Linked DNA regions of Homo sapiens: all the other regions are linked to region 3. The links are contacts of gene promoters, found by promoter capture Hi-C in human tissues and cell types (Jung and others, 2019). All regions are on one chromosome and are shown on one strand. The core of a region is centred on a gene start or on the middle of the fragment in contact, and the rest is flanking DNA. Distances in the headings are between cores, read along the strand shown. Region 1 overlaps IGF1R (insulin like growth factor 1 receptor). Region 2 has its middle 27 kb from the start of SYNM. Region 3 holds the start of PGPEP1L (pyroglutamyl-peptidase I like). Region 4 overlaps IGF1R (insulin like growth factor 1 receptor). Region 5 overlaps IGF1R (insulin like growth factor 1 receptor).

The links. Contacts are between HindIII fragments. The study calls those that stand out against the background at their distance.
Region 1: a fragment that was not itself captured here is called in contact with the fragment with the promoter of PGPEP1L in region 3 in 3 of the 25 tissues and cell types used here (adrenal gland, bladder and mesendoderm cells).
Region 2: a fragment that was not itself captured here is called in contact with the fragment with the promoter of PGPEP1L in region 3 in 3 of the 25 tissues and cell types used here (mesenchymal stem cells, mesendoderm cells and thymus).
Region 4: a fragment that was not itself captured here is called in contact with the fragment with the promoter of PGPEP1L in region 3 in 4 of the 25 tissues and cell types used here (H1 embryonic stem cells, aorta, liver and 1 more).
Region 5: a fragment that was not itself captured here is called in contact with the fragment with the promoter of PGPEP1L in region 3 in 2 of the 25 tissues and cell types used here (H1 embryonic stem cells and spleen).

The regions. Positions count from the first base shown.
Region 1 is chr15:98,883,335-98,888,360 of GRCh38, reverse strand. All of the region lies in intron 2 of IGF1R (insulin like growth factor 1 receptor), which reads right to left. Among named protein-coding and RNA genes, the nearest start is that of MIR4714, 100 kb to the right of the region's middle. RefSeq lists enhancers at 3,341-3,933, 3,934-4,526. The HindIII fragment of the contact is 5,456 bases long and covers 902-5,026 here.
Region 2 is chr15:99,075,560-99,080,938 of GRCh38, reverse strand. No RefSeq gene overlaps it. Among named protein-coding and RNA genes, the nearest start is that of SYNM, 27 kb to the left of the region's middle. The HindIII fragment of the contact is 4,261 bases long and covers 499-4,759 here.
Region 3 is chr15:99,004,782-99,010,243 of GRCh38, reverse strand. It overlaps PGPEP1L (pyroglutamyl-peptidase I like), which reads left to right and starts at 2,452. Exons shown (of 5, transcript NM_001167902.2): 1 at 2,452-2,885; 2 at 4,588-4,815. The HindIII fragment of the contact is 12,693 bases long and covers 1-5,462 here.
Region 4 is chr15:98,927,175-98,932,751 of GRCh38, reverse strand. IGF1R (insulin like growth factor 1 receptor) reads right to left here. Exons shown (of 21, transcript NM_000875.5): 14 at 3,092-3,194; 15 at 2,447-2,517. Among named protein-coding and RNA genes, the nearest start is that of PGPEP1L, 78 kb to the left of the region's middle. The HindIII fragment of the contact is 6,138 bases long and covers 1,008-5,577 here.
Region 5 is chr15:98,907,239-98,912,266 of GRCh38, reverse strand. IGF1R (insulin like growth factor 1 receptor) reads right to left here. Exons shown (of 21, transcript NM_000875.5): 6 at 3,368-3,582; 7 at 826-952. Among named protein-coding and RNA genes, the nearest start is that of PGPEP1L, 98 kb to the left of the region's middle. RefSeq lists an enhancer at 3,901-4,401. The HindIII fragment of the contact is 5,382 bases long and covers 1-4,166 here.

The sequences.
Region 1 (5,026 bases), core at 2,380-4,879, 120 kb after region 3:
GTCCAAGATCTAAAGAAACACTGCAATTGGGTATTCCAATTTCATGTTTTTAAACTGGTCACAACAGAATATAATTCCATCTATTCTTCATTTATTCATTTAGCAGCTATTTAATGTGTGCTGCACCTGTGTGCCAGACAGATGCACGCAGGATCAGCGACAATCCTGTCCCCAGGGAACGGACGACACAGCAAGTACGGGAGTGAGTGGAGCTGCCTGGTGTTTCCTGGGCTTCTGGGTGCCGAGGACGGTTTTGTGGAGTTGAAAGTGGAAAGATGAGCAAGGGAGGAATAAAGAACATCACATGTAAATGCTTGTAAAAGCAACGAGGTCACTGTGGGTGCAAGGGCTTGGGTGTTACTGAAGAAGGCCAGGGACCACTGCCCGGGGAGGCACTGAAGGCCTGTCCCAGAGGGTTTAGCCCAACTGTGGATAATACGAAACCATGGAAAGTTTTAGGCAAGGGAACAACATGCCCAGACCTTCGTATCAGAAAGGTTACCTGGCCGCAGTGCAAGGGACATGATGATCAGAGAGGGTAGGGCTGAAAGAAGAGAGGGACCAGGCTGGAAGAGAGCAGACTCCCAGCCTATGTTATTCCCACAAAATTCACGTCGTATAATGGATCTGTGAGGTTCAGTAAAACTGGTTACAGAAACAACGCTCACATTCCCGCTCGTCAGGCGTGTGCCAGCAGTATTAAGCATACACCCATCTTGGAGCACCGAGGCTGCTCTTCAGACATCACCATCACCATGCTTTGTCATTAGAGGAAGGAAACTCTGAGAATCTTACCATCATCATCAGACACTAACTGGGGGGACCAACATCTACTTGCAGAATCCCTTTCCCTGACAATTTAAAGAAAACATTATATAAAATGATGTGTAATAGACATTAAGATCAAGTAGCTATTAATGCAGTAGTAATAAGAACGTTGAAAAGAACAGAAAAATGTCCCTCTGCACTTGCTTGCAAATAGTTATACCTAAATATCAATGCCGGGATTTTCCAGGATGAGAAAGAAAAGAAAAAAAAAAACTGACAAAGTACCTGTAGATATATTCCGCATTTCCCACACATCTGAGCAGTAGTCCCCCGAAACTTCCCAAAGGAGTGAGTGAAATTATACCATCCAGTCAGTCAGTCCGTGCCACAACCGATACACAGGCTGGGGAAGTCAGGTGTGTTTCGGTGGTGGGAGCTATTTCTGAAGGAACTTCAGTAAAACCAACCAGGAAAAATCATTTTCTTTATATACAGAGCAACTTCTTAAAGGGATCACAAATCAAGGGGTTCCTTCGTGTTAAATGATGCAAACTATGCATAAGCACATGCTCTATGCGGGGGCAGCAATGGAATGTGATGGGGAGAAGAGGGGAAGGTCAAAAGGAAAGTTGCTCTGTTTGTTAGAGGACGAACTGCATAAATAAGCATTGCTGCAGAGACGGACACCATGCTCCCCTCACTGAAGCACAACCTGAAAGGATTCTAGGAGGCAAGCAAGAGAACGTGAGCAAGTGTGGGATTAGAGAGTCCTGGAGCCAGCCCCAGAGCCCGCTGTAAATTTTGTCTCATCTCAATGTATATAAATATTATTAGTGTTCAGGACCATTAAGGGATTTCTTGAAAAGCCCCGGGCAGTGTGTCTCGCCAGCAGATGGATGGCTGTTCCATGCGAGCGCCAAAACTGAGAATTTCACCTAGTACTACCAAATTTCCAATTACGGCGCTATGGGGGAAAGGAAGGGACCCTCTTCTCTGGCTTCCATGAATAAACACACTGAGTGCGATTAAAGGCATTTCAGCTTTTAAAAATAGGAGGAAAATAGAAGCTGCTATAAACTAACAAATATACAGAGAAAAAAGCAAACTGATTTTGCCCATGAGATCCTTCTATTCCTTGGAATTCTTACAGTGACCAACAATAAAAACAAAGGCCCATCTAAACTGTTGGAAAAGCTAACATGTCCCACATCCACCACTAAAAGGATTGGTTCAGGTTTGCAATCACATAAAAACGAGGCACTGCACTTAAAAGCTCCTTCTCTTCATTTTTTTTCCTTGGGGGGAGAGGAAAAAGAGTCACACACATCAGCCTTTAACTCTCTCCCTCTCCAGAGTCCTCGAATGTATCAAATTATTTCTAGAGTTTTTAAAAAACCATTTGTTTTTGTTCTTGCCAGAGTTTTTTTTTTAAATAATCATTAGTGCAGAGAAACCATTTTTAAAAGCATACCATAGGCTGGGCGTGGTGGCTCACGCCTGTGATCCCAGCACTTTGGGAGGCCGAGGCGGGCAGATCAACTGAGGTCAGGAGTTCAAGACCAGCCTGCCCAACATGGCGAAACCCCATCTCTTACTAAAAATACAAAAATTAGCCAGGTGTGGTGGCACGTGCCTGTGATCCCAGCTACTTGGGAGGCTGAGGCAGGAGAATCGTTTGAACCCAGGAGGCGGAGGTTGCAGTGAGCCAAGATTGCACCATTTTACTCCAGCCTGAGGGACAAGAACAAAACTCTATCTCCAAAAAAAAAAAAAAAATAGGAGACTCAACCTCTTCACAAGGAACAAAACATGAAAGAGGGGCCACCTGGCCATACAATATTTCATAATGCAAACAATTTTATCCCCAATCATTTCTAAAGGAAAGAACTTATTCTGCAGATGTTCAAATAAGGTAAAGCTTCTGAATCAAAATACGGAAGAGTTTAGGGCCATCTCAGCTGTTTCTGGGTTGCCCTAAGGTACACACCACTGTTCCATATAAACGCAGGGAGGCTTTCCCTAGCAGGCATGCATCCTCGTGCAGGAGGATTAACCGCTCCTAACTTCACGAAAGTGAGCTTCAACCTCCAAAGTGCATCAGAGAGACACATGGTCCAAAGAGATTTTATGATTCTCTTGCCTTGCCAGGAGAGGAACTGACCATGAGACAACACGGGGAGGAGAAGGAAAGGGAGAGGGGTGAGGGCAAGCGAGGGGCTCTAGGTGAACTGACATGCAGCGTCCTGCCCCAGGCCGAACAGAAGTCCACCCAGGACGTGGGCATTCTTCTCCAGAAAGGACTTAGCTCAGCTAAGCAAATGAGAAAGGCTTCTTTTGATTTTAGCAGTCAGGCCTCAGGTAGGTTACACCCTATAGACGTGGCAGGTTCGGGGACTCAGCCCAGCCCTCCCAGGGCTCACAGCCTGAGGACAAGCAGTGAGAATATGAGCCAGTAGCAAGCAAAGGGTAGCTTAGGGCTGCCTGCCAGGGGAAGGGACTTCCAGGCCAAAGCTGGACAAGTGAGTAGGAGCTAGCAGGTGCATAGGGATGCTGGCAGAGCCAACAGAGAGTGCGGGCCAAGAGAAGCAAAGGTAACAAAGACAACCTCAGCATGACTGAAGGATGGAAGCACTGGAGACAGAGGGGAGGGGAGACTGGGAGGAAAGATGGTGTGCCCTGAGGTAGGGAGAGCCTGGAACAGCCTTTTAATCCAGCAATAGGAGTTTGGACTACTCTTAAGAGGAAAAATACTATTTTAAGCAGGAGGCACATGATCAGATGTGCATTCTAGCCTCAGTAGCCCAGATCAAGAGGACAGCAGTGCAGATGAGGAAAAGCAGGGTAGATTCAAGATATGTCCAGGACCATCTGGAAGGGTACAGAATTTCTTTTTTTTTTTTTTTTTTTTTGAGACGGAGTGTCACTCTGTCACCAGGCTGGAGTGCAGTGGCTCAATCTCAGCTCACTGCAAGCTCCAGCTTTGCCTTCCGGATTCTTGCCATTCTCCTGTAGCTGGGACTACAGGCGCCCGCCACCATGCCCAGCTAATTTTTTGTATTTTTAGCAGAGACAGGGTTTCACCGTGTTACCCAGGATGGTCTCAATCTCCTGACCTCGTGATCCTCCTGCCTTGGCCTCCCAAAGTGCTGGGATTACAGGTGTGAGCCACCAGGCCTGGCCGGGTACAGAACTTTTCTTTTGAGGGGTACAGAAAGATCAGCTCAGTCTGGGACGTGTTGTTTTTGTGTACACATCCAAACGGAAATGCCTGGCGTGCAGTTTGTGTGGATGCAATCAGGCGTGATCTGAGCTGGAAACATCCTGGGGTGTGGTCAGCAGATGGATGGAGAAGGGACTGTGGGTTGGGTGTGGGGGAGGTCTGAGGATGCCCGGGGGACCCAGGAGAGATCACAGCACACACCGTGGCCAAGGCTGCCACCGTTCACAGGGGCCTAGCAGCCCCCCAGTGGAGTGTTCACTCCTTTAGAATACCCCCATTCCTTTAAAAGAAATGTGCTCGAGGGGATTACAGTATATTCATCTGTGAATTCCCAGACCCATGTTTCACCCTTCTCTGTCCCCAAGTCTAGGTAACAATAATAATGTATTTGTGGAATTATCTGGAGCCTCATGAACATGGTACCAAGGGCCTAAAGGCAAAGAGTTTTCAACAAAGGGTTGGTTTTTGCTGCCTTCTGTCTGGTCTTCAAACTAACCAGAGTGACAATAAAAAGAGCCCCTCCCTCAGGGGCTGCCTAGGAAGCCTGTGTGCCCTGCTGCTTTTCCAGGGAGGCAGAGGCAGCCCGGCGAACACTTTCGACAGAAAGGGTATCTTTATTTTCAGCACCCATGAATGACTGCAGAGGGACTCAGGGAACCCACGGCTGGCACAGGAGGAGGACAGCCTAGCCGGGGCAGGCGCTGAGTCCACTCAGCTGACAGGTGTGCCACCATGCTCTCGCCTCGTAAAATAATCTTCAATCAATCCTCGCTTCTGTCCTCTCACACACACTACTCCCCATCCCTATCACCCCAGGGAAGAAGAGAGTGACGGTGAGCACAGGCTTCTCAGGCTGAGAGAGCCACCGTATTACAGCTTGGCTATTAGTTTGAAGTTCTTTAAACAAGTCTGCTAGGTTGGAAAAGGAAGCTTAGTTGAAAATGCTTAGACCCACGAGGTAAAACCAAATGCTGCACATACACACAGTAAAGACATATTTTCTCAAAATGAAGACAAGAGGATTCTGTCAAGCTTCTG
Region 2 (5,379 bases), core at 1,380-3,879, 71 kb before region 3:
GGGAGAAATTACATTTTTACAATATCGAGGGTCCATGTGAGTTAACCAGCAAAGAGCTTTTTCAAGCTTTATATTTTCTATGATTTTACTCAATGAGAATAAGTAAAGCTAATAATCAAAATAACAACAATAATTTTAATACCTAACATTTGTAATAGTTACTACACACTGGATTTTTGGGTTAAGTGCTGTATAGCCATTATATTATTTACTTAGAAAAATTAACTGTTAAAATTTACCAAAAATTATGAGACCTCCATGAAGAAAGCTATACATTTTGTTACAGGGTGTAAAAACAATATTTCAACTAATTGTGAGACACAGGATGTCCTTGAATGGGAAGAATTAATCATCATAAATGTCAGTGATTTCCAAATAAATATGTACCTTAAATTAATTCCAATCAGAATATCAATGGTGTTTTCCTGGGGCTATACAAAAAGTACTTAGCATTTATATTGGAGAAATTCTAAATGTTTTAGAACTGACAACAAAAATATTTAATTGTGAAAAGACAGTGGGTGGGATTCCCTTACCAGCTATTAAAACTTTCTAGAAAACTAATATAATAATTTTAAAACTGTATGACTTTAGCTTATAAATAAGTGTACAGATCAGAAGACCAGAAAGTCAAAAAAAATCTGAGTATATATTCAAATTTAATACATGATAAAGATGGCATTTTAGTTCAGTGGGAGAGAAGATGATTTATTTAATTAATACTGCTAACATAATTGGTTATTGATCTGGAAAATAACACCTCCAGCCATGAATAAAATCATTATGAATGAATTAACCCTAAATGAAAAATAAAAAAATGGAATAAATTTAGGAGAAAATGTGTATAATTTCAAGATTGGAGCATGGCATGGGTGGGGGGTATTGCTTATGCATAACAGGAAATCTAGAATCCAGAAGAGAAAAGACAAGCTTGACTATAAAAAGTTAAAACATGGCCAGGTGCAGTGACTCATGACTGTAATCCCAACACTTTGCCAGGCCAAGGTGGGAGGATCACTTGAGGACGCCAAGAGAAGCCAGGGCAACCTAGGGAGACCCTGTCTTTACAAAAAAAATTTATAAATTAGCCAGGCATGGAGGCAGAAGTGGGAGAATTGTCTGAGCCCAGGAGTTCGTGATTGGGCCACTGCACTCCAGCCTGGGCAACAGAGCAAGACCTTGTCTCAAATAAATAAATAAATAAAAAGTAATAAAAGTTAAAACACAAGAACAGATTGGGGAAAATATCTGCAACATTCTTGATTTCTGAGTTAATATCTGTAATATATAAGGAGCTCTTGGAACTGATAAGGAAAAAAACTTACCCAATAGAAATATGCAGAAAGGACGTGACTGGGCAATACATAGGAAGGGAAATGAAAATGGTCAATAAATGAAAGATCCCCAGACTCACTAGACAGGGAAATGCAATGTATTTTATAAGGTAACATGATAGCATTTCTCACAAATCATATTGGCAAGAATTAAAAAGCTTGATAGCATTCAGTGCTTATGAAGGTGTAGATGGAACAGTTCATACAGTGTTAGTGGGAGAGTGAATTGCTGTCCTTTGGATGAAGAACGCTGGCCAGAAGCTTTGGTTAAATGTCAAACATATACACCATCTAACCAAAGAAATCCACTGGTGGATGTTATACCTCAAAGGACACATATTTACGGATGCTTTTTCATTTTTCACAGCTATTGAAAATCAGGCCTTATTTCTGGGCTCTCTGCTCTGTTCCACTGGTCTAAATGTCTGTTTTTGTACCAGTACCATGCTGTTTTGATTACTGTAGCCCTGTAGTAAAATGTGAAGTCGAGTAAGGTAATGCCTCCAGCTTTGTTCTTTTTGGTTAGGATTGCCTTAGCTATTTGCGCTCTTTTTTGGTTCCATATGAATTTTTAAATAGTTTTTTCTAGATCTCTGAAGAATGTCCTTGGTAGTTTGATAGGAATAGCATTGAATAAGGCCACATACCTACAACCATCTGATCTCTGGCAAAGCTGACAAAAACAAGCAATGGGGAAAGAGCTCCCTGTTTGATAAGTGGTGCTGGGATAACTGTCTAGTCATATGCAGAAGATTGAAATTAGACCCCTTCCTTACACCATATGCAAAAATCAACTCAAGATGAATTCAAGGCTTAAATGTAAAACCCAAAACTATAAAAGCCTTGGAAGACAACCTAAGCAACACCATTCTGGATATAGGGACTGGCAAAGATTTCATGGTGAAGACACCAAAAGCAATTTCCACAAAAGCAAAAATTGACAAATGGGATCTAATAAAATGTGGGAGCTTCTGCACAGCAAAAGAAACTATCAACAAAGTAAACAGACAACCTACAGAATGGCAGAAAATATTTGCAAGGTCTAATATTCAGCATCTATAAGGAGAAAACAACCTAATTAAAGAGTGGGCAAAGAACATGAATAGACACTTTTCAAAAGAAGACATATGTGGCCAACAAGCGTAAGAAAAAAAGCTCAAGATCACTGATCATTTGAGAAATGCAAATAAAAACTGCAGTGAGATACCATCTCACACCAGTCAGAATGGCTACTATTAAAAAGTGAAAAAATAACAGATGCTGGTGAGGTTGTGGAGAAAAGGGAATGCTTATACACTGTTGATGGGAGTGTAAATTGGTTCAACCATTGTGAAAAGCAGAGTGGCGATTCCCAAAAGAGCTAAAAACAGAACCACCATTCGACCCAGCAATCCCATTACTGGGTATATACCCAAAGGAATATAAATCATTCTATTATAAAGATACATGCACATTATGTTCACTGAAGCACTATTCACAATAGCAAAAACATGGAATCAACCTAAATGCCCATCAATAGTAGACTTTATAAAGAAGATATGGTACATATACACCATGAAATACCATACAGCCATAAAAAAGAACAAGATCATGCCATTTGCAGAAACATGGATGGAGCTGGAGGCCATTATCCTTAGCAAACTAACACAGGAATAGAAAACCAAATACTGCATGTTCTCACTTATAAGTGGGAGTCCAACGATGAGAAGACATGGACACAAAAAAGAGAACAGACACTGAGGACCACCTAAGGGTGGAGGGAGGAAGGAGGAAGAAGATCAGAAAAAAATAACTATTGGGAACTACGCTTCATACTGGGGTGACAAAATAGTCTGTACGTCAAACCTCCATAACATGAGTTTACCTATATAACAAACCTGCGCATATACCCCTGAACCTAAAATAAAAGTTTTTTAAAAAGAAAATGAGTTAGATCTAGCGTATTGACTATATGAGATATCCATAACATATTAAGTTGAAAAAGCAATGTTAAAGTACTACTGTAAGCCAGGCATGGTGGCTCATGCCTGTAATCCCAATACTTTGGGAGGCTGAGGTAGGTGGATCACTTGAGGTCAGGAGTTCAAGACAGCCTGGCCAACATGGCAAAACCCCATCTGTACTAAAAATACAAAAATTAGCCGAGCGTGGTGGCACACGCCTGTAGTCCCAGTTACTCGGGAGGCTGAGGCACAAGAATCGCTTGGACCCAGGAAGCAGAGGTTGCAGTGAGCCGAGATCTCACCACTGCACTCCAGCCTGGGGGACAGAGTGAGACCCTGTCTAAACAAAATCAATAAAATCCAAGTATGAAGAAGAAGGAAAAAAGCAACCTCTATATATGCTTTATACAGGAAATGTTTTTTATGATACATGTGATTTATAATCACTGCATAAAGTGTTTCTACCTTTTAATCCATTGTTTTGGTTGCAAAGGTCACCAGTTCTCAAGCTTGGCTGCCCTTTGGAATCACCTGGGGATTTTTAAAAACGCTGATGTCTGGGCCCTACATCCAGAGATTCTGATTTAATTGTGATGGGGTACGGCCTGGACATCAGATTTTTAAAGGCTCCTCAGGTGATTTTCATGTGAAGCAAACCCTGAGGACCAGTGGCATAGATAACTGAGGTCTGAAGCCCAATTTTGGAATAGTTTGACATATGACCTGTGAAGCTATTTTTGCAATTGTCCTGTTAACCACTAGATGGCGTGTTATCCACACTACAGCATTTCGACAACCAGGGTTTTGCCGAACTCTTGGGGAGGTGAAGGACGGAGGCAAGCAGGAAGCAACCAAGGATCGAACGGAACAGACCTGGGACCAGGAATTGTGCCAGATTCGGGCCTCATCCTGCATCACGTAGTGAGCATACAGCTTTTTTTTAAGTTCTGGGGGAAAAAATTATCATCATTAAGCCTGACTTTCCTTCAAGTCAGAGAGGAGCTGCTCCTTAGTCTCTTCCTGTTTCAGTGTCTTTTCTTGGATGTGAGTTACAGAAAGTCATTCTTTGTGGAAAGGCCACACCCTCTGTTGTTTGGCTGCAAGGGTGAAATGGAAGGATGCTCTTTGGAAATCTCTTAATTAAAAGTAAATAATTGACTGTGTAGTAAACAGCCAGAGGGGCAATATTTAAACCCTATTTATAGATTCAGATTAGTGGTGGGAGTAAATAGGACAGTCAGGAGAAAACTTAAATTAAGAAGATTCCCGTCACCCTCACACACAAGAGTGTGATTTTTTTTTCTGAAAACAAATACCTCTGGGCTTCATTTTTCTCCCTTTGATCTCAAAATAAACACCAACCTCCACACTTCTTGGTCATGCACTGCTGGTTCATTAAAGAGCCATATGCTGATTTCCTGTGAGTGTTTAACACGTCATGATTAAGGGCAAAGTCAAGAAACAATTTAAGGACAATTTTTCAATAAAATTAGCTCCAAAACTAAGTGTAATTACTGTCAGTGTTTCTATTATTTGGACTTTTTCCCATCAGAATGTATAAATAGTGTTTTTAATGAATATACAAATTATATGTTTCTGAGAACCAAGAACTCTGACTCCATGAGGAGACAGATAGTGTCTGTATCCCAGGGCAGGTAATTAATGTGAAGGATTCGAGATTTCCTTTGTAGCTATTCATCTATAAAGCAGCCTGTGAGCCATGAGGCCCTGCGGACCATCCCATCAAAAATCTCAGCCAAAATTTGTATCAGTTAGGGTTCTCCGAGAACCAGAAGCAACAGGATATATCATATATGATGAAGAAGCAACTCACATGATAATGGAGGCTGAGAAGTCCCCAGATCTGCTGTTGGCAAGCTGGACACACAAGAAAGCTGATGGTATTGTTCCAGTCTTGAGGCCAAAGACCTGAGACCAGGAGAGGCAATAATGTAAGTTCCAGTTCAAGTCCAATTCCAAAGGCAAAGGACTGATGACCCAGCTCAAAGACCAGAGAGTGAAGCTGATGACCCAGCTCAAAGACCAGAGAGTGAAGCTGATGACCCAGCTCAAAGACCAGAGAGTGAAGCTGATGACCCAGC
Region 3 (5,462 bases), core at 1,203-3,702:
AAGTCGCTTATCTGGAAACAGTGATGTTTGACATGGAGAAAGACTTATGTTATCATTATTTTGGAAATCACAAGTGCTTCTTGCTGATTGATTTATTTTCTCCCCACCTCCCAAAGGAATTTGACCAGTTTGATTAAATTTCATTTATGTCAAGTGTACAAAATGTGTTGTAAGAGCTGTTTGTGTCAGAGACAGTAAACAAACCCCTTTAATCTTTTTTCTTGCGAGAGCAGGAAGTCACCACTTGCCAATGAGAAATTTAAAACAAATCCCACAAAGTTTTGAGTTTAGTTCAGCACGTGAAATAGTTGAGGTCTTGGGATCTTGTAATCTTGGCAACTCCCATTTGCTGTCCCTGGTGAGAACACTTGTGTACCGTTGCTTACTTTCCGGTTCACTAAGAGGGTCGCACCTTGCCCTCTTAATCCTAGAGTCAAATCTGATTACAAACATTTTCCTCTCGGGAATCCCGCTTGTAAGGAAGATCACTGTGCTCTCTGTTAAATAAAACAGCTCCATTTAGTTGCCTTATTCGTTCTCAGGCTTACTGTATTTCATCAGCCTAAAGACTGTGTTTGACATCAATTATTAGAGACCATTTGTTTTTACAATGGAAAAAGAAATAAAAGTGCAGATGTTGAACCTCAAAATCCATACTTCTCAGAGCTATTTTCATTCCAGAAAGTAGGAATGTGCTGGGGGGTTCTTGTGTGGGGAGAGGGGAGGTGAATGAATACAAAAATAGACATATCACTGTGACTAAGTAAAATATTTTGTGTTGTTTTTTCTATTAATTTCAAAATTAGAGAAAACTTTAGAACAGAAAAAAATAAGTGAATTATGGGAAAGTGAAAACTGCAGGACACATTCCAGTTTAGTTAAAATAATAGCTCCTGTCAAATCAAAAAAAAAATGATGAAAATTTCAGCTTTGTTATCAGAAAAGTAGTATGGTTAAAGATGGGCAGTCTTTGCACTTAAGGAGTCTCCTTAAACACAAGTTCCCATTCCCAGACCTCATAGGTGAATGTTGATAGCAGAGTTGGACCCTAGCAGCAACCAACTTTACAAATGTGGGCATTTCTGGACGGGCGCGGTGGCTCACGCCTGTAATCACAGCACTTTGGGAGGCCGAGGCAGGTGGATCACGAGGTCAGGAGTTCAAGACCAGCCTGGCCAAGATGGTCAAACTCTGTCTCTACTAAAAATACAAAAAATAGCCAGGGCTGGTGGCAGGTGCCTGTAATCCCAGCTACTCCGGAGGCTGAGGGAGAGAACTGCTTGAACCTGGGAGGCGGAGGCTGCAGTGAGCCGAGATCGCGCCACTGCACTCCAGCCTGGGCAACAGAGCGAGACTACATCTGAAAAAAAAAAAAAAAGAAGAAGTGGGCATTTCTTAATGGTCCAATCTCTTCCTTTAACTGTGCAGAGGAAGCCAAGCCCCCACTGAGAGGTGACAACATGCTGGTAGGCCTCGCAGCCGTCACTCACTCTCGGCTCCTCTGCCTGGGCTCCCACTTTAACGGCACTTGAGGAGCCCTTCAGCCCGCCGCTGCACTGTGGGAGCCCCTTCCTGGGCTGGCCAAAGCCAGAGCCGGCTCCCTCAGCTTGCGGGGAGGTGTGGAGGGAGAGACGCGGGCGGGAACCGGGGCTGCACGCCGCGCTTGCGCGCCAGTGCGAGTTCCGGGTGGGCGTGGGCTCGGCGGGCCCCGCACTCCAAGCAGCCAGCCCGCCCCGCCGGCCACGGGCAGTGAGGGGCTTAGCACCTGGGCCAGCAGCTGTTAGTGCTCGACTTCTCGCGGGGCCTTAGCTGCCTCCGTGCGGGGCATGGCTCGGGACCTGCAGCCCGCCATACCTGAGCCTCCTCCCCCGCGTCATGGGCTCCTGCGCGGCCTGAGCCTCCCCCACGAGTGCCGCCCCCTGCTCCACAGGACCCAGTCCCATCGACCACCCAACGGCTGAGGAGTGCAGGCGCACTGCACAGGACTGGCAGGCAGCTCCACCTGCGGCCCTGGTGCGGGATCCACTGGGTGAAGCCAGCTGGGCTTCTGAGTCTGGAAGGGACTTGGAGAACCTTTATGTTTAACTAAGGGATTGTAAATACACCAATGGGCACTCTGTATCTAGCTCAAGGTTTGTAAACACACCAATCAGCACCCTGTGTCTAGCTCAGGGTTTGTGAATGCACCAATCGACGCTCTGTATCTAGCTACTCTGGTGGGGACTTGGAGAACCTTTGTGTCCACACTCTGTATCTAGCTAATCTAGTGGGGACGTGGAGAACTTTTGTGTCCAGCTCCAGGATTGTAAACGCACCCATCAGCACCCTGTCAAAACGGACCAATCAGCTCTCTGTAAAACAGACCAATCGGCTCTCTGTAAAATGGACCAATCAGCAGGATGTGGGTGGGGCCAGATAAGAGAATAAAAGCAGGCTGCCCCAGGTAGCAGTAGCAACTTGCTGGAGTCGCCTTCTGTGCTGTGGAAGTTTTGTTGTTTTGCTTGTTTGCAATAACCGTTGCTGCTGCTTACTGTTTGGGTCCGCACTGCCTTTATGAGCTGTAACGCTCACCGTGAAGGTCTGCAGCTTCGTTCTTAAAGCCAGCCACATCACGGACCCACCGGGAGAAACGAATAACTCCAAACACGCCACCTTAAGAGCCGTAGCACTCATGATGAAGGTCCGTAGCTTCACTCCTGAAGTCAGCGAGATCACGAATCTGCCAGAAGGAAGAAACTCCGAACACATGCGAGCATCAGAAGAAACAAACTTGGGACACGCTGCCTTTAAAAACTGTAACACTCACCGCCAGGGTCCGCGGCTTCGTTCTTGAAGTCAGTGAGACCAAGAATCCGCCGATTCTGGACACACCATGACGGAACTAGGTAAGTGATAGGAGCTAGGAGAGCTGCTCACCAGAGGAGGTAGAGACCAAGTCTACAAGTGCATCCGGGGTATATTGAGAAACCGGGTAACTTCTGTGAAATGAGGCAAAGTACAAAAATCCTCTGCATCCCACTCATGGCAAGGTGGGCCCAGCTTCTCAGGACAGGGAGTGGGAGACTAGTGGGAGCAAATGGCGCTTCCCACCTGTTGGCAGTGAAGAGGCCTGCAGCCCACACCAGGAGCTAATTAAAGGGAATTGTTCCTGGTTCAGAATCCCAGAAAGCCACCAAGGGGGGTCTAATCCGCGGGGGTGATCCCAATTAAAAGGGAGCGCTTTATATCAGGAGGACAATTCAGCAGATGGAGCCACGTGGTCCTGCTGTCACACTGAGCTCTCTAGAGGCCGCAGGGTGCTTGAGAGGCTCTGCCTGCTTCCCTGAAGGGAGCTTCTCCTCCCCAGACCTAGATGGGGACAGAGAATCATGGGTCTTCTTCCTCTTAATATACAGCTTCAGGAAAAAAGTATTTTCAGTTTAAAAAAAAGTTTAAGAATATTTTTAGAGACAGGGTCTCACTCTGTCACCCAGGGTGGAGTGCAGAGGTGCAGTTACGACTGACGGCTCAAGTGATCCTCCCGCTTCAGCCTCCCTGAGAAGCCAGGACTATGGGCATATACCACGTTTTGAAAAAAATAATTGATGCAGTCTTGCCACGTTGCCCAGGTTGATCTTGAACTCCTGGCCTCAGGCTATCCTCCTACCTTGGCCTCTCAAAATGCTGAAATTAAAGGCGTGAGCCAGTGCACCTGGCCAAAAGTTTGTTTTGTTTTTAAATAGAATTCTCCGAAAGATCAAGATATTGGAAAACAGCTTTTTCGATAGAGGAAATAGCCTCAAATGTTAGCCTTTTTCAGTTATTCTGACACATTAAAAAGAGGACTGTCTGCAGAGCCAGGTGGCATGCCACGGCTGTGGCTCACTGTCAGTGGCATGTTTAAGGAGTCCAGCACAGTGTCAAGAAAGCACTTTTCGCAGGTAGAACGCAGGGTGGTGAGCACAGAGCTAGCAAGCTTGCACAGACGCTAGCTAGGTGGCAAGCCTCTGTTCCTCAGGGCTGATGAAGCTGGGGACAGTGCCTGGGGCACAGAAAGAATCCATACAGGATCCGGTGCTGCGATCCTCGTTTCTCAAAACAGGAAACCTGAGCACAGAGGTTAACTTCCCTGAGGACCCACAGCTCCTAGGCAGCGGTGCTTGCAATCAATATTTTAAAGGCAGGCGCCATAAGATTCATCTATGGTTTTCTCTCTTTTTTTTCTGCTCACATCTCACATATTTTGTGGAATTAGTTTTCAGAGCAATCAAATTTTACCAAATCATAATGGCCAAACACAATGAGGGGCTCTGGCAGGGATTACTAAAGAGGAAAAAATAAGATCTAAGTAAACGACTTGTAGGGTAGCCCACAGTTCCTAGGACAGTACCTCTTTGAGCACCATGTGGTGTTCCGTCCCAGACATCCTTCTGTCCCAGGCAAACCGGGACAGCTGGTAGCCAAACCCTTAGCTCACCTTTGAACCATCCTGAACAACAAAGTGACCCAGACTCAAATGTCCAGAAAGTCCCTGCTGGCGCTCCAACCCGCTGTCCTGAGCTGGATCGTTCTGCTTTCAAGGGGCATTGCTTTATCACCCTCCCCTAGATCCTTGGCCTTTCGGGGCCCAGAACGCTACGGACGCCGGGCGGCCAGGAGGGGTTGGGCTCCCGCTCCACCCCGGTCCCCGGCGAGCACGCGGCCAGGCAGAGAAGGTGCCCGGAGCTCAGAGCGCGCAGAGCCCGGCCGCTGGGCCGCTGCCTGAGCCAGGGAGGCGCAGCGCGAGCTCCCACTTCGTCTTCATGGATTCCCAGCCCAGCTGCGTGGTGGTGACTGGTAAGACTACATAATTTTTTTCTCTCCTATTTGTTGCTGCTTTTAGCCTGCCCCTGGAATGCGCACTGGCCTGATCCTGGGTCTTAAATAGTTCCCTGAGGGAAAAAAAGAATGGCAACTGGTGGTGCTAATAATTCCAGATGGAAACGAACTTGCTGCTGTGCCCTATTAATAAACAATCAGGATCACAGGCATTTCTGCTTCTGTGGCTCATTCGCTTCAAGTAACTCTCGAGTGGCGGGCACGAAGGTGCCACTGGTGGCTTAGGCTCAGACCTTGCCTTTCAACCCAGCAGGGAGGAAGCTGAGGCTGGTACCTGTTTTCCCTGAGTGGGGCCCGAGGCACGTGAGGTATCCCTTGGGGGTGCAGGCTCATAGCAAGGAAGAGGGATCTATACGCCCAGAAACCACAGGGCCCTCACAAGGCTTGCAAACCCATCTACAACAGCCACCCGCAAAGGAACACACAGTCCCCACTTCCAGAGTAAGAACTTCCATTTTTCAGGGAGCTGTGAAGCACCCCCCGAGAGCCACTAGCTGGAGACCCTGAGCCCCAGAAGGTCAACTTGGAAGGAATGGTGGCTGCTCACTCCTGCAAACACCAGCACATCCAGAGTCACCCCCACCCACACTTGCCTCACCAAGTCA
Region 4 (5,577 bases), core at 2,827-5,326, 79 kb after region 3:
CTTGCACCCCTGAAGAAGAGGCGGGTGCTTGTCAGAGGAGAGTAAGTATGCAAGACAACCCAGGAGATAAGGCTCTTCACAATGCGCCTCAGAAAGTGTAAAGAGTTCACTGTCTCCAGCCATTTATCTCTGAGAATCCAGGCTTGCTTTTAATCAGAATTAACTGTTTAGCCTGCCATAAAACATGGAGTTGAAACCAATCACATTCATTCCCTGGGAGGTCCCTGAAGTCAATACGCTCAATCCTTTTCTCTCGATTCAACCCAACGGCTCCGACTTTAAGCAGGCGTCCCCAGTGCCACCAGCCAGGAGCGGTTTCTGTGCACAATGTTATCAGCACTTTCCTGTAGGGGATTTTCAATGTACTCTGGAGAATGGTGACATGCAGATTATAGCTTTGGGAAAAAGAAGTTTTTAAAGCACTTTTGAACTGCAATGTCATTTTGTTGCCCCTCGAGGAAACTGGCTATAAGTGCTTCTCAAAGGCCGAATAAATTAAGTTCAAATAAGGTGACACTGTTCCCACCTGTCGACCTGGGTGGCAATAAGTTTGTTTTTGTTGTAATGAAGTACCAAGACGTATCATGAAAGCATTCTAGAAGGACACAAAATGTGAATTCAAGTCACCATGAGAGCCCTGAGAATCTGAATTTGTTGTATTGATGCTTTCTCTTCCTGGACACTTCACAGTCAAAAGCTACACACACCAACCTCTAGTGCCGCATTTCAAAGCAGAATAGCTTCTCTCGTAGAGTCACAGTCCACCCTCACAGAGGGAGAAAGTGGTCTTGCCTTGTTCTATCAATTCCATCATCTGGGATGACTCCCTTCCTTACTGATTTTCTTTTTAGAAGCTATTATTCATACAAACAATGCATATCTATCTTCTTGCTGGATTTTAAGAGCCAGTCTCGCTCTATAGGCTGTAGTGCAGTGGTGGGATTCTAGCTCACTGCAGCTCTTGGGCTCAGGTAATCCTTTCACCTCAGTCTCCCGAGTAGCTGGGACTACAGGTGCCTTCGACCACATCTGGCTTTTTTTTTTTTTTTTTTTTTAAAGGGAAAGATCCTCTCCACAAGTAACAACTCTTGTAAGTGTGGTGTGCATCCGTCCAGAATGTTCTCTCTGCCTTATATACACACACTACAGAAGTATGTATATATATATTACTATTAAAAAACCAACTTTGTGAGACCTTTATGTAGATAGAAATAAAGTCATTATTCTGCACCTGATTCCCATTCAGAGGAGGCTGCTTTTGATTGACTTTACTATAAACTGAATTAGAAATTATTAAAGAAACCATAGTAAAACCCTACATAGTATAACGGTGTTTTCACATTATTAAAGTATTTTCTTATGTTTTCTTATTTGATCACAATAATTAGAATAATCATGTCTCTTTATTTCACATCTCCTGCATCTACTTTCACTTCTCCCGAGGCAAGAAGACAGCAAACACTTTTTCTAAATGTACTCACTCAACATCATGCACTTATTTATTATTCATTTGATGAATCCGGTCCAGCCCCTCCTGAGGGCTGTTTCCTTGCCTGCCCGGGGGACCTCACAGCCCTTTCCACAGTGATTCCATTCTCCTCCTGACTTCTCAACTGTCTAACCATGTGAGCCTGCACAAGTTTTTTCCCAGAGTTCATTTCCTCACCTGCAGATGGGCATTAAGAAAACGCACATTGCAGGGGTTTAAGAAACAAATGGGATGGTGTTTGTAAAAGCCCCTAGCAAAGTGCCAGTTAAGGGTCCTAGTATCACTGGACTCAGTGACCAACCCCTCACCCTAATCCGACTCACTCAAAAGGTCTGGATATAAAAATGCTAGAAAGAGCAAAAAAGGAAATAACCATTGAGGATCACCCAACTTCCATGTCAGACCTTCCCAGCCACTTAACTGAATGGCCCTCATTAGTTATTACCAAGGGGAATGTGAATGAGCCACGAGCGTATGACCCTAGTCGGAAGGGAATGACAGAAAAATTCCATGATAAAAAAAAAAGCAGAGCTGTAATTCATCAAAGACAATTATAATGAGATGATACTCAAGCTGAAACTAGTTTAAAAGGACTGTTTTGTCAGCTGCAGCATATCCTCTGACTAGATGTTAACAATTAAAAAGCTGTTTTCATTCTAGCATAACATCTCAAGCAATTAAATAAATTGATTACTGCGCTGGCCACATTCATCTCTAAAGCCTGTGTTTCCTTGGGGCACCCCATACAGTCCCACAAGTTTTGACATATTCACTGAACTGCTAAAAACTTTGATTAAAAAAAAAAAGAAAGAAAGAAATATTAATGAAGACAGATCCAAGGCCAAAGGTAGCTCAAAATAATGCAAACCTCCTTCCTTTCCCAAATTAGCAACCCTCCTGAAAGCTCCCGATCTACCTGCCCTGCACGCTGGCAGTGCTGGTGGCCCGGACTCTTACCATCAGCAGCGCTGAAGTACTCCGGGTTCACAGAGGCATACAGCACTCCATTCCCCAGCCTGCTGTTATTTCTGTCAAAAAGATTAAATTCACGTTAACAAAACCCCACCTCCATACATTCCTGTATATACTTTCATCTTCGCTACAACAGTTTCATTTATCCTCTCTCACACGGTATCAGAACAGAATGGGGAGAGCTTACTGTCTACAGCAGCTCTTGTCTACACTCCCAATTCAGGCCTGGGTGAGCCAGCAGACATTTGCTAACACATCTTCTGGCTTCCTCAGTAGCCTGAGATTAGCGCTTTTTAAGAAACATCTGTTTCTTTACTTCATTGGAAATAAAAAGGCTTATTTGATTGGGAAGGCTAGCGCATCGCGTTTGGAAAAGTATGCACCAGCAGCAGTATCTGTATACCAGAAAAGCCAGCCAGGGGAAGGTCTGTACCATCGAAAAATTATTTTGGCTGTTGTTAAAATCATTAGAAAAGGTTCTCTTTTCCTGGAAGAACATTTGATGGGAAAATCAGGTTTTCCAGTCCATAAAATATTTCCTTGAAATCTTCAAAAATATCACCTTCACTCACATTCAAATCATCAAACCACTCAGCCACAGAAAGTGTCATAACTTTGCACATCACTGACCTCTTTCTATGGAAGACGTACAGCATAATCACCAACCCTCCCACGATCAACAGGACAGCGACGGGCAGAGCGATGATCAGATGGATGAAGTTTTCATATCCTGCTGCAGCAAAGAGGAGGAAATGATAAAATATCACCAGGTGAACAATTTGCTCATTTCATTTCTTCACATTCAGTTGGAAGTATGAAAAAAATACCTGTATATTCGTTTACTCCCCATCATACAGTAAGAATTCCTGAAGGTAAATGGTGTCAGAAATAGAACACGGCAAACAAACAATTATTTGAAAAAAGAGTAAATATGTGCAGACTGAGGCATATACTCATTTTTTAAAGTACAGTATATTCTGGTGCAATAGTTTCAATGATAGACTGAAGAAAAATAATCTTTGTACGCAGTTTAATGACTGTTAGTGAAAATGCATACATTTGACACTAATTTCCCACATTCCACAGAATGTTCCAGGGTTTGGTCCATGTCCCCGGTACCCAGCCTAGCATCTGCCATACAAGTGTTGGTTCTGTTGGTAAGCGGTCTTTGTGATCTCACACCTGTAAAAGGACTCAAATGCTTGCAGCAGCAAGCATTCTATTTCTAATAAATAGAATGAAAATTTCTATTCATTTTCATAAAATGAATAGAAATTCTTACATCTATGTACAGTCTACATCTATGTATAGGTCAAGTCCTGCTGGCCTCAATCTTTGAGATAGTTCCACAGACAATTTAAAATAAACACACACACACATGCACACACTGGACGGCACCCCTTTCCAATGCCGCTGCAGACATTTGAGTCCTGCTACAAGTCTAAGACCACAGAAGCCACTGATCATCAGAACCAGCACTTGTATGGCAGATGCTAGGCTGGGCACCAGGCACATGGACCCATACCCTGGAACATTCTGTGGGACATGGGAAATTAGTGTCAACAGGTAGCATGACAACTAGAAAAGTGGACTTCACATATGGCAACAATTCAGAGAGGAAGGGAGAGGAGAGAAGGGAGTCGAGGGAACCTCCCCAAGGGAAAACTTGTTTATGATATGCTTTCCTTGGGGGTTGTGGGGAAATGGCTTTCCTAGAAAATGATGATACTGGAGAGAAGTCAGGGCCAGCTCACAAGGGACCCAGCCCAAGCTAAGCAGTTTCACCCTCATTCTGCAGATTAAAAGGAGTCAGCGAAAGCTTTCAGGCCCAGCAGTGAACTGATCAGATTCGCGTTCCAGGGAAATGGCTGTGCTGAGGACAGACGGAGGGACCTGGCAGTAAGAGAAGGCACTGTCATGTCTTGGAGAATTGGGGGGACATGCCATGTCTCCAGGGCATGCTCTGCATTACCCAGTTCAGACCTACAAAGAAGTCACTGATCCTTGTCTTTACACCAGGCAGACTCACAGAGATGATCTGGCTTGGTAAGTCATGGCCCCAGGATGAGGCTCATACAGTATGACAGCTCATACCATCCCCCCAAGGCGAGTGACCTGGAGTCTGAGCTGTGGCGGTGCTGGTGGTGACAGAGGGCTGGATTCCAGAGACATTTAAGAGGCAGAATCCATGAGGCTTGGGTTGGAATGAAAAAGGGGTGGCTGAACAGAAAGAAGAGTGAAGGATGCTGTGAGGTTCCTGGCTTGGGTAACAAATGGATTACAAGACCACTGACTGAGCTAAGGAGCAAAGGAGAGAAGAGGCCTTTCGAGGGCAACAACTGTGATTTTGGTTTTGGCACAAGGAATCTGAGACCTCTCTGGGACGTCCAAATACAGATGTCTATGTGGAAATGGGCCTGGAATCACTGGGGATCAAGTAAACATTAATCGTAAGTCCCCTATCAATGATTATTTTGCCATGGAAAACTGTGATCATGGTTACTCTTTAAAGACTACTACAGCTATTTTAATTTTTAAAATTAGAAGTATTTTAATCGAAGAAAGAAATATTTTTATTGATATTGTAGCTCTCAAAATGGATGCAGGCTCCAGCATTTTGCAATTCCTAAAAACACTCAGAGGTGATCATTACCAACGGAAAGCTGGCAGATTTTTCTTTCTTCCCCCAAGGCCCTTATATCACTGTTTATATCACTTATACTACTGGTCAGGCTGTACTGTGTTCTTTTTGAGTTTCACATTTCAACAGGGACATGGAGAAAATGGAACACATCCAGAGAATAACAAAAATGATTAAATGGCTAGGAAACTGGTGTATGATATTGGGCTACAAGAAAAGGCCAAAAGACCTGAGATTATTTCATCTGGAAAAGAGAAGTCTGAGGAGTAATTTAATAGTATTCAGGCACACAAGGAGTTCCTAAAAGGAAGGCAGTTGCCTGAAAGCTTCCAAACCTTCCATCTCCTCTGAGGATTAAATAAGAGGAAATGAGACTAAACTGTAGCAGGACAGAGTCTTGTCTGACATAAGGAAAAATTTCTCAACAGTAAGGCCAGCACGCAGATCCAATTTCCCTGCAGTACGTGATAACATC
Region 5 (5,028 bases), core at 226-2,725, 97 kb after region 3:
TGGCAGGAGGAAAGAGTACAAGATGCTGTCATAAGGTGCCTCTGGTTGCTGCTCTTTGGAAGCCACACATCTGGGAGAGAGAACTATGGGATTAACATGGGACCTGGGTAAGGGGGATGGCTAAGTAGACCGGGGTAGCCACCTGGATATAGAAGGCAAAGGAAGGAAGAGGGAGATCAAAGAGGGCTGCAGTCGGGAGGAATAAGCCTCGGCTGCTTAGATGGGGGAATGTCATGTGATCACACAGGAAAAGCTCCCAACAGAGTCTAGGAGAAGTCACAAAAGGCTCAAGACATGAAGGTTGTTCTCTCTCCACTTTTCTTCGCTTGTTTGGAAGGCTCATGACCTAGAGCAGAGGGCCACAGCTTGGGAGAGGCACACAGAGAGAGAGACAGGAATAAGATGATACAAAAGAGCCACGTGCCTGCAGGGTGTTCCTGGAGTAGGCCTAGTAGGTAAGGAGGCTGAAACGATATTTCAGTGAAGTCCCCCATCATCGTTCATGAGTCTGGACTGACCTAATTCTGGAAAAAGCAAGCTTTCCCCATTTTGGGTTTATTTTATTCAAACACCTCTAATCACTCACTAAAGAATGACAGGCCTCGAGCTAACACTTTCCCAATCATGGCTGTCACTGGCTGTGACTGACATCACAGGGACAGCCCGAGAGGGTGCATGAGGATGAAGTAGGGATGTTTGGCGTGGCTCTCCCTGGGGACTCTGCTGACCCCCTGTATTCAGCCAGCCCATTCAAGGATCGAAAGACTGGCCTCTCCCATTCGTAGCCCTGTCAACAGAATGGCATCACCCAAAGCAGAAACTCACGCTTCCTTGTAGTAAACGGTGAAGCTGATGAGATCCCTGTAGTCAGGGGGCCGGTACCGGTGCCAGGTTATGATGATGCGATTCTTCGACGTGGTGGTGGAGGTGAAATGCAGGACGTCACTTTCACCTGGGGCAAAGAGTACATCCGTGAGTGACAGAGATTCATGTGTCTCTGAAAAGCACCTGTCTTGCTTGGCACTGCTTCCCCCTTCCCCAAAGCTGGCTGTATATGCTAAGTTCCCTTCTGGGCTTCCTCAGTGGCTTTCTCGTTTTCCACTAAGAAATCATACATTTCACTATGCAGAGCTCCAAGGGCTCCATCCTTTGTTTTAGGTCAATCAGTTACGCTGGCTACTTGCCCAGGGACTTGGACATGAACCTGGGTTTCCTAACCTGAAAACAAGGGGCGACTTCAGTGAACGAGGTGAACTTATCTTTCTTCTCCATCCCTAAGATCCTGGCTATGAAAGGGGGCCTGGTAGGGTGAAGGTGAGCCTTTAGGCTGCCCTGAAACTTCTTAAGAGAGACGATGACACTTGTTCTGCAGTTGTGGATATCTGCCTGTTCGTGTACAACCACCAAAGACAGGTAAGAGACTACAGGTGTGCCACAGAAAGGAACTTTTCTTGGTCTAAACTTGGTATCAAACTGGAAGGACACAGGAACTCCTGTGAGGCCTCCAGCTAGGGCTGACAAACAACGGGAGGCTGGATTAAGCACTGACAAGAAGATCTCACTTGGCCAAGCCTAACGTGCTCTATGGGAAGTAGCCTGGCTGGCGGGTATGGCAGGGAAGCTGTGCCAAGTGTCTCTCTTATTCCTTGGACCAAATTCAAACTACGATAAGGACCAGGGAAAGACTGATGACTGCCCACCCTCATGGAGACCCAGAGCTCTCTGACGAATTGTCCTTTCGCCCTCTTATCTGCCTGAATCCCACTACACACTCAAGAGGTGAAGCAGAGGGACTGAAGACAGTAAAAGAGCTAAGAAGTCTTTAGGACAAAATGTGCGCAACTGAGATTGGGAAATGTCACAGTTCCTGCTGAAGTGTTATTTAGAGAGGAAACCATGATTTTGCTTTCAAAAGAAAATAAACGGCTACTATGTATTATGATCTGACAGGTCAGACTGGCTGACTCTAAGGAGACAAGCACTCTGAAATACTCGGATACATCCGATTTTACTATGATCTGAACAGGGAGCAAGGCAGGGGCTTTGCAGGGATAGAGTGAGCAGGGGGCGGGAGGCGGCGCTGGTCGTCAGCCTGCTGTTCAGCCCTAGGTCAGTCAGCGTGCTTCCCTCTAAGATCCCCCAGAGCAACAAGTGTCGCCAGGTAAATCCAGACACCAGCGAAACAAGCCAAAGCCAAACACGCATCGGTTCTGATTTGCCTCCCTGCATGTGTGTCTGTCTGCACACACGCACAAATCACCCTTCATCATACAAATTACTTTTTTTCTAATACCCTTCCCTTATTAAAAGCCAAAGGTGAAAAGACGATTTACTTTTATAACCCTATCCAGCCAGAGAGCCACGCCATTCTCAACAGCCGTATTCTACACAGGGTTAGATGAGAAAGGCACTGCTGTATCTCTGATATGAGACCTTAAAGTTTTATAAACAGTACAAGGCTGTAATTATATTGTTCTCAATTTAAAAAGCAATATCAACTCAGGGCTGCAGGCTCACTCCATCTTTTTCATGTTGGGGTGGGAGAAACAAGGCGGCCGAGTGTAAGGGACAGGAAACCCGTGGCCCACAGGGGCTGCGCTTAGGGCAGAGCCCCCTCCACCCCACAGGCCTGTGCTTCCCTTCTGTGGGAGCAGAAGGGTAGAGCTCATAGGGCTGAAGCACACTGGCTCTTCCCTGAAAAATAATCGGACAGGGCATGGTGGCTCAAGCCTGTAATCCCAGCACTTTGGGAGGCTGAGGCACGTGGATCATTTGAGGTCAGGAGTTTGAGGCCAGCCTGGCCAACATGATGAAATCCCGTCTCTACTAAAAATCCAAAAATTAGCTGGGCATGGTGGCAGGTGTCTGTAATCTCAGCTGCTCGGGAGGCTGAGGCATGAGAACCGCTTGAACCGAGGTGGAGGTTACAGTGAGCCAAGATCATGCCACTGCACCCCAGCCTGGGTGACAGAGTGAGACTCCATCTCAAAAAAAAAAAAAAAAAAGAAAAAAAAAGAAAAAAAAGAAAAGAAAAAAGAAAGAGAAATATCTAACTGTGCACCTGTGTATAAAAGGACATTTAACTGTGCATTCTGTAAGCAGCACTTTAAAGTTTGAGAACCTACTTATAAGTGTTTCACACACTCACAGAGATGTACAGAATTTATAAATACGAATACATCACGTATCTGCCCACTACTGATTGTGATGACATATAAGTAGGAGCAAAGTGCTAGTTAAGATGGTCTAGTGGTCCCCCATGTGAAACCAGGAGGGGCCGCAGAGGAAAGCTGCCATCACACATGGGAGGAGGGTCTGCTGTTATCATGATGGTTGGGCCCACGGTGTTTTGGATGCTGTCACTCACAGGAGGCTCTCTCCCCGTTGTTCCTGGTGTTTATGTCCCCTTTGCTTTGGCGCCCTTTAGTCCCCGTCACTTCCTCCATGCGGTAAATTTCGGAAACACATAATTTGGGATTGAAAGCAAAGTACATTTTCCCTGCTTTGATGGTCAGGTTGCGGTGGTCCCAGTCCCACAGTTGCTGCAAGTTCTGGTTGTCGAGGACGTAGAAGGAGTAATTCCTAGAAGCACAGAAATCGATGTTAGCGCACCTGCCCTTGGCCACAGTCCCCTCTAGCCTGCTGGCCACGTAACACAGGTCCTCTTTGCCACCTGCTCCACAATACATTTCCTTTGCCAATAAGAGATTTAGTTATTAACACTATAGGAGAACAGACAGTTGCTGTTAACAATGGCAGCAACATGATTCAAGGATAACATATCAAAATCGGTAAGATGCTAATTAATTCTATGACCACTATTACCATCAAATAATGCTTCTTGTACCAGAGGATGTTACTAGAATCATTCCCAAGAAATGCCTTTGGTTATTTTTCTCAGCCAAGTATGTACAACGTGCTTGAAAGCAGTCCATGAGAGAACAGACATGCTCTGCTACCCAATCGGAACAGCGTACACTTTGCTCTAAAGTCTCCCATTATCCATGGAAGTAAATCCTGCCCAATCAGCAGCATGATGGGATAGGAGACAGCATGAGACAGGGAGACAAGCTTGTGGGGGGTCAACCCTGGGCCTTCTCCCTCCCCCATTCATCTTTCATTCTGAGCAGCCCCAGCTCCAGTCCCTGGAGGTGTGGGGGAGGAGGAAGAGCCACTAACATGCAGTGCTCTTGGGCCTCTCATCCAGGCAAGAGGACTCGGAGTCCAACACAGTGGTTCTCCAAGTTCAGTGTGCACAAAGCTTGTTTGCAAAGGGCTGGGCCCCACCCCCAGAGCTTCTGATTCAGCTGGGGTGGGCAAAGAATCTGCATTTATCACAAATCCCAGGTGGTGCTGACCCCTGCTGTGGTCCCTGGACCACACGTGGAGAACCAGCAATCTAGGAGAGGCTGAGTTCCAGTGAGGTGGTGGAGGACCAAAGCCCACCAAACCAGACGTGGCTTCTGCCCCAGAGGGTGTGCACACGAGTAGCAGATCCAACCAGCACAGGAAGCCGTTCTATCTGGCTACCCAGGTGGCAGGACAAGTCCATCCCTGGAGAGGCAAGAAAGCAGACAGCTACGGCTTAGGTCTAGAGAAAGATCCCCGCAGTGGGCCTTTCTCTCTGGCTTCCCCAGGAAGGCAGCAGACAATGCCAGGGTTGACTTCTGAGTCCTCTGTGCTGATGGGCCTGATCCCCATGGACCGTGAATCCTTCTTCTCCTCTTCCTGCTCTGCTTCTTACTAAGTTTGGGAATCAGTGCAGTACTTTGAGTGACTTCTAAGATCCACTCACAGATCTAATGTATAAACACACAAAGGAGAAAGAACCCCAGCCCTCCCTGCAGAGCCAGCGTAGCCAGGACAAAACAGAACCCCTAAGGCTTCGTCTGCCCTGGAGGCTATGTCCATTGGGGATCTCTCTGCATCTGGTGAGGGTCTTCATTTACACCCAAACCAGGACCTCTAACCAGCTGGTCAATCCTCAGCCTGATTCTCATTTACAGTAAAGCACAAATTATGGTTACA